Linked DNA regions of Homo sapiens: region 1 is linked to region 2. The links are contacts of gene promoters, found by promoter capture Hi-C in human tissues and cell types (Jung and others, 2019). All regions are on one chromosome and are shown on one strand. The core of a region is centred on a gene start or on the middle of the fragment in contact, and the rest is flanking DNA. Distances in the headings are between cores, read along the strand shown. Region 1 has its middle 39 kb from the start of IRX2-DT. Region 2 holds the start of IRX2 (iroquois homeobox 2).

What was found. The method cuts DNA at HindIII sites, captures the fragments that hold promoters and counts their contacts. A contact is called where the count stands out against the background at its distance.
Region 1: a fragment that was not itself captured here is called in contact with the fragment with the promoter of IRX2 in region 2 in 3 of the 25 tissues and cell types used here (IMR-90 fibroblasts, bladder and stomach).

What each region holds. Positions count from the first base shown.
Region 1 is chr5:2,787,709-2,794,861 of GRCh38, forward strand. It overlaps the pseudogene LOC100130748. Among named protein-coding and RNA genes, the nearest start is that of IRX2-DT, 39 kb to the left of the region's middle. The HindIII fragment of the contact is 4,512 bases long and covers 1-4,226 here.
Region 2 is chr5:2,746,272-2,754,147 of GRCh38, forward strand. It overlaps IRX2 (iroquois homeobox 2), which reads right to left and starts at 5,406. Exons shown (of 4, transcript NM_033267.5): 1 at 4,894-5,406; 2 at 3,111-3,516; 3 at 2,074-2,781; 4 at 1-1,345. The coding sequence starts at 5,142. The coding sequence ends at 1,293. IRX2-DT (IRX2 divergent transcript) reads left to right here and starts at 5,622. Exons shown (of 4, transcript NR_122126.2): 1 at 5,622-6,193; 2 at 6,409-6,483; 3 at 7,014-7,084. RefSeq lists enhancers at 1,545-2,490, 2,491-3,435, 5,521-6,445. The HindIII fragment of the contact is 21,259 bases long and covers 1,393-7,876 here.

The DNA.
Region 1 (7,153 bases), core at 721-3,220, 38 kb after region 2:
ATTACCTTCAATTGCTCTAGGGCAAAAGATGAACAATCTTGCTGTAAGTTTTCAATAATTTGTCCCACAGTATTGGCTGAAAAGCAACTGTTTATTTTGCCCATGTGTTCCTCAAGTATAAAAGACTTGTCTTCATCAATCTTAGACTCCATATGGTAATTTTCTAAGACAGCTGCAATATTTTCTTTTGAAGGAGATTTCAAGGCTAACAAATCTTCCTCTAACATGCCCAACTTTTCAGAATCTACAAAGTGTGTAGCAATTCCTGCTCTGTACATATCATTTCATTTTAGTCTGAATCCTGTTAATGCAAGGATGTAACCAAGTTTTCCTTGAAGTCATGGCAAGAAATAACCTCCACCCACATCAGGGAACAGCCCTACTGCGGTTTCTGGCATGGCAAAAAGACACTTTTCTGTAGCCACTTGAAGCTGCCCATGGACTGACGACCAACTCTCCCACCCATTGTAATTCCATGAATAAGTGCAACATAAGGTTTCTGGCAAGAACCAAAAGCATTGTTCAGCATATATTCTTCTCTGAAGAAAACTGGCGCTATCTTCCGTTTTGCCTTTTCAGCCTCCGAGATGACTCTAATATCACTCCCATCACAGAAAGCCTTTCCTCCGGCTCCCTTTATAATGATCAGGAGAGTTTCAGGATCTTCTTCCCACTTCTCTAGCCATGGATACATCTGCACACGTTTCTTTCCCCCCCCCCAATAGCACGTCTTCTGCTGCATCTGTGTGCTTGGACATTCTCAAATGGTGCAGTATGGTATTAATCCTTTTGAATGCATTAAACCTCGACATGAGCCTCCCCACCTCCTGCTGCCCCATCGCCAAACACTCCGGAGCTAAAGCAGCAGAGCAAGAGGCACCCGGATGGTTCCAGCACCTCCAAATACAGCTTTTTATATGCATTGGGAAAACAAAAAATTTGTGTGACTCGATTTATTACAGTGGTCTGGAACCCAGCCCTCATCTCTGAAGTATGCCTGTATATACACGCATGTGTATCTATAAACATGTAAATCCTATGTAAACATACGTGTGCACCTATAGATGTGTAAGTCCTGCATCCGCAGGTATGTGCACCTGTAGACATGTAAGGCATATATATACATATATACATGTCAGCTGTGAGAGCAGACTTCACTAATTGCTAATGAACAGAACATGTCAGAAATGATGGAATGTCACTTCCAACATTAAGTATTAAAAGATTCTGACTTTCCATTTTGAGTCTCCTTTCTTTCTCATTATCCTCCAATCACTGATCTGGGGAAAACCAGCTGCCAAGGTTTCCCTGAGACCAGCGACCTGGAGATCGTGAGGCCGCCTTGTGCACAAGCTCATGTGGGGAGAGTGAGGCTGGTCAACAGCCAGGTGAGTGGGCTTGGAAGCCAGTCACTGCCCCTGTTGAACACTTAAAACAAATCCTCTAATTGTGCAAGTTCAATATTGAAAGGCAAATTAGACCTAGCTTATTACATATAGGTATTCAACTTTTCTACTTTCTTTCTATTTAATCTGTTAGTTTCTGAATTTTAAGTTACTGTCTCTTACAATGACTGAGAATTTTCTACTTTTTGTACATTGTGTGTTTTAAGCTGTTATGTGCAAAAAAGTTTATGACTGACATGTCTTCTTAATGCATTATTCCCTTTATTATATAAATAACCAATTTAATCCCCCTTGTTATTTTCACCCCGACTTCTAATTTATTTTCTGTCAATGCCTCCAGTTGCTAGCTTTTTATTAGCATTTGATTGGCATCCATTTCCCATCCAATTCTTTTCAACTTCCATATGAAAGTTGTGCCTTGGTGCGTCTCTTCTGTTGGTGCAGAATTGGATTTTTTTAACCCAATTTGTAAGGTTCTCTCTTTTGCTACATGAACAGAACTCATATTTATTACAAGTACTGATCTGTTTCACTTTTCTTTTCTGCCAAATAATTTATTTCTAGATATTATATTTGCCATTTTATTTTTTCCTCATAAATGCCATTGTTTTTAATTGATCATGTTTTCTCAGTTACTTTCCAACCTCTCTCTAATGATATTCAAAAACACAATTTTTTTTCAAGCATCATTATTAAGGCATAATTTTCAATGTGGTGATTTAGTGGGGCTGTTGAGTAAAATTGCTATGAACATTCATGTGCAAGCGTTTGTTGGATTATGTTTTCATTTATCTTACGCAAATACCTAGGCACACAAGCACCATGCCATATGCTAAGTGAATGTTCGACTTTGTAAGAAACTTCCAAACTGCTTGCCAAAGGCCTGTCTCACTTGACATTTCCACCAGTGAGGTGTAACATTCATACCAACACTTGCTACTTGCTATTTTTCAGCTTTTTAACTTTTGCTAATCTAGTGGTTTTGTGCTTATATCTTCTTGAGATTTTAATTTGCTTTTCTCTGATAACATGGCAAACATTTTTCTCATGTGCTTACTGATCATTTATATATCTTTTGTTTATAAATGACATTTTGAAATACTTGCCAACATTTTGAAAAAACCTGGTTTTTCAATATATTCTTATTATTAAGTTGTAAGAGTTCTTTATATATTTTGGGTACAGAACCTTGGTCTGAAACATGTATTATGAATATTTCCCCCAATATATGGCTTACCTTTTCATTTAAAAAAAAAGTCTAAGAACAGAAGCTTTCTAATTTAAGTTTAAATGATCAGTTTTTTCAAAAAATATGGGGTTTAGCTTTTTGCATGATATGCAGGAAATTTGTGCTAGCCTCTATGTCACAAAAATAAGATTTTCTCCTTATTTCTTCCAGGAGTTTTGTAGTTTATAATTTTAGATTTAGGACTATGACCCATTTCAAGTTTTTTTGCATGTGTTTGACAGGTGCTGTTTTGTTTGTTTTGCTTTTGTTGTTTTTGTACTTTAGCTGATATCCAGTTGTCCTAGTACTATTTGTTAAAAAGATTATCTTTTCCCCATTAACTTGACTGGAAAATCAACTGAACCTTTAAGAGCACATGGATTTGTAGGCTATTAACTTTATTCCATGGATCTGCATGTGTCTTTCAAAGTGGATACCACATTGACTTTGTTACTGGGGCAGACGTGGAAGTCAGCTGGTGCAAGTTCTTCAGCTTTTCCCTAGCTGTGCTGGCTCTTCCAGATTATCTGCATTTTCATAGAAGTTTTAGAAAAATCTGGTCATTTTCTACTAAAATGTCTGTTGGGATTTTGATTTCAATGACTCTATTGATTAACTGGGGGAAAATTGATATCACAATATTGAGTCTTCCCATCAATGAATATTATATTTCTTCCCATTTATTTAGATTTATTTAATTTCTCCCAGAAATATTCTGTAGTTTAGCATATAATATGGCACATATTTATTCCTACATAGTTAAGGTTTCGATGCTATTGATAATGGATATTTTAAAAAATTCATTTTCCAATTGCTCATTGCTAGCATAGAGAAATATAATTATTATATATTGACCTTTTATTATCTGACCTTGCTAAATTAGTCAATTAATTCTAGCAGCTTTCGTAGATTTTTTAGAATTTCCTACATCCAGATATTATGTTATTTACAAATAAAGGCAATTTTATTTCTTTCTTTGCAATGTGTATGACTTTTGCTTCTTTTTCTTGCCTTATTGCACTGGGTAGAAGCCCCAGGACAATGCTTAGTAGAAGTGGTGGGAGCAGACGTTGCCTTGCTCCTGATTATAGGGAGGGAAGTATTGTTTTTCATCATTAAATGTTGTTAATTGTGGACTGAGTGTATATGTTCTTTATGGATTGAGGATGTCCGTTTCTCCCCTGATTTTGTTGAGAGCTTGATTTTTGATGAATGCTTTTCTTTTATTTCTTCCATAAATTCAGGTAATCGTGTAGTTTTCCTTCTTTATTTTGTTAACATGGTGAATCATGTTAATGAATTTTTTAATGTTAATGAATCCCGAATTTTTGGGATGAGCTCCACTTGGTCACAATATATTTTATTTTTATTGCTAGGTTTAATTTGCTAATATTTTATAAAAGAATTTGTATATTCAATGATAGATATTGTTCTGTATGTTTCTTGAGATATTTTTGTCTGGTTTTGGTAATTTGGTATCAAGGTAGTTTGGCCTCATAAAATAAATTAGGAAACTTCTCTATTTTCTAAAAAGAGAATGTGTATTATTATTTATTCCTTAAATGATGGATAGAATTTACTACTGAAGTCATATGAGCCTGGAGTTTTCTTTGTAGGAAGGTTTAAAAAAATTTTTTTTTAGATAGATACAGAGCTATTCAGATTTTCTATTTTTTTCTTATGTGTGGTATCTTTAAAAAATTTCTCCACTTTATCTAAGTAGTTGAATATATTTGTGTAAGTCTATTTCTTTATAATCCTTCCTTATAACCTTTTTATGACTCTAGGGTCTGTAGTGGTATGTATTAATTGACTCTTGATACTGGCAATTTATATCTGTTCTTCTCTTTTTCTTGTTCAGTCAACTGAAAGTATATAAATTTTGTTGATCCTTTCAAAGAATGACCTTTTGATTTTATTGTTTTTCCATTTTTATTTTATTAATGTCAGATCTGATCTTTATTATTTTCTCCTCTTATTTTGAGTTTGCTTTGATATTCATTTTATCAGTATCTTAAGGTAGAGGTTTAGACTACCGAATTTAGACTTTTCCCATTTTTCAAAAAAAGCATGTAATGCTATACATTTTGTTGTAAGAACTGCTTTAGCTGAAGCCTGCAAAGTTTTACATGTTGCATTTTTAGTTTTCATTTCATTCAGTTTAAAATATTGCTGTCATCTTCAATTCATTGGGTTATTTAAACATATTTTATGCTGGGCACAGTGGTTCATTCCTATAATCCCAGCACTTTGGGAGACAAAGGTGGGCAGATTGCTTGAGCCCAGGAGTTTGAGACCAGCCTGGGCAACATGGCAAAATCTTGTCTCTACAAAACATACAAAAATTAGCCAGGTGTGATGGCATGTACATGTAGTCCCAGCTACTCAGGAAGCTGAGGCAGGAGGATCCCTTGAACCCAGGAGGGTGAGGTTTCAGTAAGCCAAGATTGTGCCACTTGCCTGGGGACAGAGCAAGACCCTGTCTCAAAAATACAAAACGAAACATATTTTGCTTAATTTCCAAATACTTAGGAATTTCAAAAATATCTTCTTATTATTTATTTCTAATTTAATGCCATCATGTCAGATAATGTATTCTGTATAATTTCAGTCCTCTTAAACTTATTGAAACTTATGTAATGCCCTATTATTTGGTTTACATTGGAGAAGGCTCCAGGTTCACTTGAGAAGGTATGAATTCTGCCATTGTATGGTGGAGATTCTATAAAGGTCAACTTATTTGAGTTGGTCGATGGTGTTGTTTAGGTCTTCTATGTACTTGCTGATTTTCTCTCCACTTGTTATATTAGTTGCTAAGAGAGGAGTGCTAATATTACCAACTCTACTCATGAAAGTATCTATTTCTTTTTTCACTCTAGAAATTGTATGCCTCATGATTTTAACACACATATTATTAAGTACATACAAACTTAGGATGAGTATATCTTCTTGTTAAATTGACTTTTTTGTTATAATAAAATATATTCTGTATGTCTTTCTATATATTGTAGTATTTCTTGTCCTAAAGCCTACTTCGTCTGATACTGAGATAGTCACTTCAGCTTTCTTATGATTAGTTTTTGCATTTTATCCTCCTTTCTGTCATTTTATTTTAACCTGGTTCTGTCTTTATATTTAAAGCTTATTTCTTACAGATAGGATATATTGGAGTATTGCTTTTTTATCATCTAATAATCTCTTCTGTTCAATTAATGTTTTTACATCATTTATATTTAGTGTAACTATTATTATGATTTGATTTAAATCAGCCTGTTACTATTTGTCCCATCTGTTTTTTACTACTTTGTCTTTATTTTTTTTGCCTTTTTCTATATTGAGATTATAAAATTATTCCAATTTATCAGAATTATCATCTTACTAGTTGTACCTCTTTATAATTATATATAATTTTAGTGCTGTCTAGTGTTTACAACATGAAACTTTAACTGAGTGAAGTACACCTTTAAATGTTATATCTCTATGTATATAATGCAAGACCTTTATAAGGGTGTGATTCCATTTCCCATTGTCGTATATCTTATTTATACATATAAACCTCATAATATAGTATTACTTTTTGCTTTAAATGATCAGTTATTTCTAAAAATTTCAAAAATGGAAAAAATAACCTTAATACTTATTTGCGCATTTACCATTTTGGAGGCTCTTTATTTATTTTTATAGATCCAAATTCTGAGCTGGTTTTGCTTAATTTCAGCATAAAGTTGTGGGTTTTTTTTTTCCTACTAACGTTGTTGTTCATATCTATGGTGATAATTGGATTTCTTTACTCAAAAAAAATGTTTGCCTTATGTTTGACAAATATATCCCTGGACATAGAACTACAGGTTGACTTTTTTTTTTCTTTGCTGCACTTTATAGATTGTTTTCATTGTCTTCTGGCTTTCATTGTTTCTCTTAGGCAATGTGTAATTATTATTATCTTAGTCTCCCCTGTTCATGTTTTCTCACCCTCTAATCCCTGGCTGCTTGCAGGGTTTTCTTTGTACTTATTTGACTGGGCTTTAGTGAGTTTATTCTACCTGTGTGTTCATAGTTTTCATCAGTTTGGAAAAATACTAACCATTATTTATTCAAGTGTATTTCTGACCTCTTTTCTGTTTCAGGGACTCCAGATATACTTCTATTAGATTGTTTAATGTTTTCCCATAGGTCCCTGAGGCTCTAGTGTTTTTCCTCCATCTCTGTGCTTTTTTTTGAGGGGATATGATGCGTTTTTTATATATTTAAGTTCTCTGATTTGTCTTCTGCAATGTATAGCTCTATTTATTTTTGATGGTTGCATTGTATTCTATTTCATGAAAATAGAATATCATAATTTACTCATCCATTTTTCTAATTAAGGGCACTACATTATTTCCAGTTTCTTGCCATTTGCAATAGTCCTGCAACAAATATCATTGTACATATGTTTTTACTTAATTTATTTCTATGAGATAGAGTTCTAGGTCTGGGATCTTTGGGCGAAAGGAATATTTATTTAATTTTAAACTTATTT
Region 2 (7,876 bases), core at 4,156-6,655:
ACCAGGCAGAATTTATTTACAAAAAGTTTAGATTCCATTGCAATACAACTTGCATAAATTACTAGAAGCTTTATATCATTATAAAAATAAATATCAAATTTGTTTCCACTTCTGAAGTACTCAAGTTCTTCCATCACGTTTTATTTCTACTGTGTACATCTTTTACAAATAAACTTTACAGTAAATCCTATCACACCTATAGAATATATACCGTGGCAATGAAGTGATCAATTCAAGATATCCTGAGAAAAACAGATTGTTTTCAAAAGTCACACATACATCGGGGAAACTATACTATGCCAACAAATTCACATATGTCCAACAATAGTCTGTTCCAATTGTTAGAGTCTGTGGGCTGACAGTGCTGTGTGGATCCTTCTCTTTTACAGTGGCACAAGATGTGGTCTGGATTTAGACATCTGTTTGTTGTATCTGTAAATTTATGAGCTTGGGAAGAGAGAATGGCCTGCTGACTTTTTTTTTTTTTTTTTTTTCAAAGCAATTGTGACACCTACCTGTGGACCAAGGAAAAAACCAAATCATCCCCAATCTTTCAGTTCCACAACAACACCATTATAAAAACGAGTTGATCTGAAGTGGTTCCAAATCTTTCTTATCTTCAAGATCTATGATTAGTAATTCTGACTCGTTGCAAAGCAACATATTTTTTGAGATACTGTTGTGAGCCCCGGGAGAATGTCAGAGTCCTGTCCACTTGGACATGGGTGGAGGGGAGGTTGGACAGGGCTGATAAAAGACTAGTACGCCTCGTGTCTCTTCAGTCTTATTTTGCAAACATCATCTATAAAGGTTTTTGCTACTCCAAGTTTTGGTAGCCCAAGCTCATCAAAGCATGTGTCTATTATGTGTCTAGCATAGTAAAAATGGCTCTAAATTGCATATAAATGCCCAGATTTTAATAATCTATTGTTTCAAAAGAAAACAACAGTAGTGTGTAATATATATATACACATGTACTATATATATACATGTACTATATATATACATATATATATTACACACACACACACACACATATATATATATATTTTTTTTTTCCTTCCCTAGGTAAAGGAGTGATAGAACTTGTGCCAAAAAGAGGGAATCTATAAAACAGAAAATATAGTTTCCCCCTTAAGGAAAGAAAAGCTGGACAAGATTGAAATGCTCTGTCTTCTAACCCCATGACCAGAAGCAAGAAAAACACATTAAGCAAGTTGGTGCTGGGAGGCTCCACAGGGTCTGGGAAGCACCAGGGTGCCCACTTACTTGCATTGCTGTGCTCGGCCCTTCTATAGGTAGGGCTGGACGCCCCCGCCAACCACGGTGCAGCCCTCGCTGGCATCTGTCAGGGGAGTGGGCAGTTAGTCAGAACCGACCCCACAGCCTGCTGGCTGCGCAGACCACCGTGCACCCACCATCCTCCACTCCCAGGCAAACAGCAGTTTGGGAAACCGACTGTCTCCAGGGCCGCTATCTGAGACGACTTTTGGTGATGGTCCCTAGTTCTTAACTTCCCCCCTTGAACTCCTCTTTCGGGTAGCCTGACTTAGGAGCAACACAGGCAACATAGCACAGGGGAAAAAACGGTTTTCTTTCCGAACAACGACAACAACAAAAAGCGGAAAAAACATTTGATTTTATCTTTTGAAGACAAAACGCCTCTGAGAGTAACTGGAACGTTCTGTTTGCCTCTAGCCAACGGCAGAAAAGCGGATTCAACTCTGACTCCTTAACAAGACACCGAAACACACCCAGGCTCATTAGGGCGACACGCTGTAATTTGAATTTCGTGGCAATCTGGGTTTGCCGAAACTAAGACAGCCACGATAGTAATAGTCAAAATAACAGTAAATTAAGTAAAAATAAATAATAACAGGGCAAGTCTAAAAAGAGGGCCACACCTTCTTTGGCTTCCATCTCGCCCTCCGCCCTCACTCTGCTAATTCTGGGTCCCAGGAGTGGCCCCCTGGATCTTCTTCCCGGACCCTCCCTCGGGTCTCCCGGGCGCTCCGCCTCCCCGGGGCTGGCTCTCCCTCCCCTCCCGGGCGCCGCCGGCCGCGGGCCGCCTACCTTTCTTGGGCTCGTAGCCGCCGCCCGGGGACCGGTAGTGGGACTCGAGCGGGTGCGCGCCCGCCTTGCCCGCGTCGCTGGCCGCCTTTGGCGCGGTGTGCAGGGCCTCGCCGGGGGCCGCGGCCGCAGAGTTGTACCGCAGGAGACCCTGGCCCTGCAGCGCCGCGTTCAAGTTCCCGTAGTTTGTGTAGTTGCCGTAGAAGGGCGACGTGTAGTAGAGGGGGCGGCCCAGCAGCGGCGAGGCAGGGTAGGGCGAGCCTCCTGGCGGTGCCCCGGTTGAGGCCGGCGCGGCGGCCGCGGGCAGCCCCGGTGGCCCGCAGCCCGGGCCCAGGCTCGGCTGCTTGAGGTCCGACGTGGCGATCTCGGCCAGCGACCACAGCTTGGGCTTGCTGGCGGGGGGCGGCGCGCCCGGAGACGTCCGGCTGCCCTGGGGCGTCTTGCGGCCACCGCGGGGCGCGGCCTCGGGCGGGGGGCTCAGCAGCGGCGCCTCCAAGCCGGTAAGCGGCGACGAGGTCACGGGCTTGGGCGGCGCCAGGCCCCGCTCGCCCTCCTCGTCGTCGTCCTCGTCGTCCTCCAGGTCGTCATACTTGTCCTTGCACTCCGAGCCCGATTCGCACAGGGGGTCCCCGGCGCGGCACGGAAGCTTCTCCCCGTCCGACTCGGCCGAGCACGAGTGATCCGTGAGCGAGTCCACGTGCAGGCTGATCCCTGTGGGGGCGCGGGCACGGTGGGTGGCACGAGGGGACAGCGCAGGCACCTGGAGCCCCCTCCGCCCCCTGTCCTGCGGCACTGGGCCCTCCCCACGGGACCCCTCACCTCGCCCCCACCCGGCCACGTGACAGGCGGAGCCTGACCTCCCCGGGAAGGGCCCGAGGAATCGCTCGCTCAAATCCCGGCGACCCCAGGGCAATGTGGTGCGGCTGGGGCTCCGGCCCGGACCTGGGGTGTCCGGCGGGCAACGTCCTCCCCGCCTTAGCTCTGCGCCCCGCCTGGGAAGAAAGCGCCCCGAGACCTTGCGCCGGCCGCTGCCCGCTCACCTTCGTCCTCTGCCGAGGTCTCCGTGCCCTCCTGCGCCTTGTCGGGACTCTCGTCCTTGCTTCTGGTAGCGTCGCCCTCGTCCTCGTCCTCATCTTCGCTTTTGTTTCTCGGGGCCCAGGTCATCTTGTTCTCCTTCTTGAGGCGCCGGCGCGCGTTGGCGAACCAGGTGGAGACCTGGGTGAGGGTCATCTTGGTGATGATGGCTAGCATGATCTTCTCGCCCTTGGTGGGGTAGGGGTTCTTGCGGTGCTCGTTGAGCCAGGCCTTGAGAGTGGCCGTGGCGTCCCGCGTGGCGTTCTTGCGGTACGCGGGGTCGTTGAGCTGGTACGGGTAGGCCGCGCTGCCGTACGGGTGGTAGCTGATGGCGCCGGTCATGCCGGTGGTGTGCGCGTCGTAGGGTGCGCCCTGGAACCAACAAGAGCCTGTGAGTGGAGTATGCGGAGACCCCGCGGGCAACCAGCCAGAGGATGCCACCCCTCCGCCCGCCCACGGCCACCGTTCCCCCCGTGAGTCTGGCTCTGGGGCTGCGCTTCCCGCCGCAAAAGAGCAGGAAAAACGCAGTGTGATTCGGGACCAGCTGTTGATCACAAAAAGTACCGGAGTTTTATTCTCGAATTTCTGAACTATTTCACTTTCCTAAAATGACCCATCTTCCCCTAAGTGTTCCGGAGCCGCTCGTGGCAATGTACACAAACCCTTGCACGTGCGCGCACACAGGCCCACAGGTAGCTCTTTGATATCTAAATTTCTGCAGATGCTTGGAGTGCGGCTGCCTCCCCCTACTCCCTCTTCCCCTCCCTTATATGGTTAAAAAAACACCCCAGAGCCCCCAATTCACTATTCACTGCTCTAAAGCTGGGCAAATCCAATTTGCAACTCAGAAGCCAGTCACCGTTTCGAATTCTTCAAATACGCCGTAATTAGCATTTTAATTCATCCTTTAACGTTTAAATTCGAGGCATTTGCAGCCTTCGCCAAGGCCCCAGCGACTCGGTCGCTGCCCAGAAATTCCGCCGAGGGCCGGCAGTCGCGACAACCCCGTAATGGCCTCAATCGCCCGTAACGTGCTTCGCCGCGGCCCGGGCCTGGCCCAGCTCAGTAACCTCGAGACTCGCGAGCCGCCCCCAGGTCGCCGGAGCAGGAGCTGCGCTCGGGCCACGGAGGACTCAGGCGGCCCTTAGCGGGTCACGCGCCCGCAAGCACGATATTTGAAAGCATGGTCCGCTGGACAGAGTAAGGCCGAAACCTGGGCGCCTCGGGCCGGACTCCGGAGCCGCAGCTGAATGCTCGGCTCCTGGGCCTAACTCGGTGACCCCCACCGCCCTGAGCCCCGCGAGTGAATGCGAACCGCCCGGCCGTCGGCTCAGAGGCCGCAGTGACGCGGACCCTCGCGCCCCACGCCAATGCAGGCGAGCACACAGCCCGCTCCGAACGCCTCCCCAGGCTGCGGTGCGGAAACCAGGGACAAACGGCGCCAGACCCCGGCCCCGGCGGAGACGCACTTCCCAGGCTCTCAGAGAAAATCAGCCGGCGAGCCGAGGGGACGCGCGGGGGGCGCGCGGGTCCCGGCCGGGCTCAGGGACGTCCCCGCCTGCCGCGCTGCCCTCCCCACCCGGGGCCCGGCTCAGCCTGCGGGGCGGCCAACCGAGCCGGCGACTCCTGAGTCGCCAGCCGCGCCACATTCCCGGCGGCCCCCGCCCGCCGAACCCGAGCCCCGCTCCGCCTGAGCCCCGTCTGGGTCCCGGCGCCCAGGAGTCCCGCGTCCCGCCCGCGCCCGGTTACCATGTAGGACGGGAAGCCGGCGGCGGCGGCGGCGGCGTCGGCCGAGTACTGCAGCGGGCTCCCGAAGCCGGTGGCCGCCTGCGCCGTGAAGGCCGCCGAGCCCGGGTAGGGGCTGAACGCCGAGCCCGACGCCGAGCGCGCCAGCTCCTCGCTGCGCGGAGCCGCCAAAGCCGACGCGCCGTAGGCCGGGCACGAGTAGAGCGCCAGCGAGCCGGGCGCCTGGTACAGGTAGCCCTGCGGGTAGGACATGGTGGGCGCGGGGCGCGGGGCCCGCGTCACGCCGAGCAGCGGGCAGGGCGCGCGGCGCCCTCCATCCACGCCCGGCCGGGGCGCGGCGCGGCGGCGGGCACCCGGACGGCCGGCGGAGGCAGGCCGGCCCGGGTACTAGCCTGGGCGGCCCGCGGGCCGGGGCGGCGGCGGGGTGGCGGTGGCGGCGGCAGCAGCGCGGAGCCGGTGGGCGCAGCCGCGCGCCAGGCCGGCGGTCGGGGTTTGGGGGAGTCTGGAGTCGGGAGTGAGGAGTTGAGGAAGGAGCGCTCGAGTTTCCGAGGGACATTGGAACGCGCAGCTGTCCATCACGCGCTCATCTGCATATTCGGGGGCCCGCCCCTCCCCTGCTCCGCCCGCTGCAGCCTCCGGGCCGCGGCCGGGGGAGGGGCAGAGAGACGGGAGGGAGGCGGGGGAGGGCGGAGGCGACGGAGGCGGGCGGCGGGAGGGACCGGCAGGCTTTTGTGGCGCAGCCGCCTCTCTAGCAGCTCCGGCCCCAGCCCGCGGCTCGCGGACCTGCAGCCCAGCCCGGCCGCGCTGCGTGCCCCGGCGCGCACCCCTCCCACTCCCATCCACTCGGAGCCACGTCCCCTGCCCGGCTCCGGCCGGCTCCCACCGTCCCCGGCCACCGTCTTCGCCCCTGCCCGGCCCCCGCCCCTTCCAGCCACTACCCCGCCCCCACCCCCTTCTCCACCCTCACGGACTAGGCAGAGGCCGCCCGCGGTCAGGCCAGGCCGGGTCCAATTAGGGGACTCACAGCCTGCCCCGCTGTGCACCCCGAGGAGGCCCGGCCCCTGTGTCCAATCCGGAAGTCGCAGGGAAGTGGGGAGGTCAGGATGGTGGCGCCCGCGGCTCGGGTCTTCCTCCGGGCAGTGCGCGCGGCTCTCACTTCCACGGTCCCGGACCTGCTCTGCCTCCTGGCCCGAGGCTCCCCGCGTGGCCTCGCGTCTGGTCGCCTACCCCTCGCGGTCCACTCCGCCCAGCATGGACCTGGATCCGGGGCGCCTTGGTTGCGAATTGCCAGGAGGGCCCTGAGGTGAGCTTTCTGCCCCCAAATCCGCAGCGCAACCCCCGGGGCCCTGAACGTTACGACTTTCCACTGTTGGGAATGACGCCAGGGCTTCAGCTAAGAAGACGCCGTCCCCTAAAGAGTTTTATTTTATTTTGTTTTTCTAAGTTGACTCCTCTTTCAGATTTGTGTTGTCAAAACACTGGGGGGATGATTGTTACCTGACAAACCGCCTCTGGCAGGACCTGAAGCCTCCCAGTCACGTCGAGAACGGGCAGGAGCTCAGGTTGGCGCCGCCGGTGCAGTGGGCATTACAGGTAGCTCAGGTGACGCGCGGCTGGAGTAGGGGGGCGGTTGCCTTGCGGGGCTCAGAAGCGAGGCGGTTGGCGAGGGTTCCTAGGACCCCAGCTTCCTAGAACCCTCTCCCCATCACGCTTCTCCAACCCTTTTCCACTCGGGGATGGCCGAAGAGGGCGTCTGGCTGCCCACTCCGAAGGGTCACCTATGGGGGGCGCTCAGGGGGATGGAAGAGTGTCAGGTCTGTGCTGGCCTATTGGGAGCACCCACCCAGCAGGTGCCTCTATCCTCGGAAGCCGTCTCGGGTGGGTGCGGTGGAGAAGAGAGAGCGCAGTGGCCTGGGGCGGGCCTCAGCTCAGGCCTGCAGCCGACTCCTGCACCCCTGCTGGCCCTGCAGCCTGCGGAGCAGCCTTAGTGATCTCAGGACGCAGGGCATGTTGCGGCCTCCCTGTGGTGCGGCTGCAGCGGCGCGGAGGGAGCGGAGCCCGGGTTGCCAGTCTGGTCCAGGGCGCAAGAGAAACACTCACGGCATCAGGCTGTCTTTCCCCAGGTGCAAGGGAACCAGTTGCAAACTGCAGTGCTGTGCTTGAGGATGGCTCCTCCTGAGCCGGCAGGCTCCCGGTAGGCGCGGTCCAGGCACGTTACCCCTCCCGCCAGGAGCTCCCGAGCCGAGCCACTCGCCCCCTACCAGTTATCCCACCCACCCCTTCGCCCACACTGCTCCCCCACCACTCTTCCTACAAACCACACCCCCATCCTGCACACATCCTCTTCAGGCCATCTCAACACACGCACACGCACACACACCCACGACCACCTCTCCCTCCACCCACAGACACCCCGTTCCCACAGGCTGGGCCCCCTGCAACGACCCAGCGGGGGGTTTCAACCTTGTTGCGACTCCACATGGGACATCCTAATTCAGTCCAGGACAGATATTTTTAATCAATTACTATAGAGCTGAAAAACAGAGAGAGAGAGAAAGCAGCCGGGTTGGGCAAGCCGTCGACAGTCTGCGACATTTTTGCGCTTCCTGGGAGGGAATTCCTCCAAGAAGAGGGGTAAATGAGAGGCCCACACGCTGGATGGCAAACACAAACACTGTCAGATCAGATGGCAACCTTTAGGGTTCCTTTACGATCAGATCAGTTTAAATGAAAAAAAAATCGGGTGTAATTTTTATCACCAGGGAGCACTGGCCTGGAGTATTTCCATTTCTAAAGAGCGGTTCCCGCTGTGGTTTCATTAGCATTTGGGGCTCATCCTCCCTCCCCCTCCCTTGACCCACCCCCCTCCCCCCGCCGGACCTCTGCCAGGGGCAGAAGAGAAAACAGCCAGTTATTATACAAACATCCTCAGTTTGGAGCTGGAGTGTCTGCTCTGGATACAGTCGATTCTGACATCAATTAAATA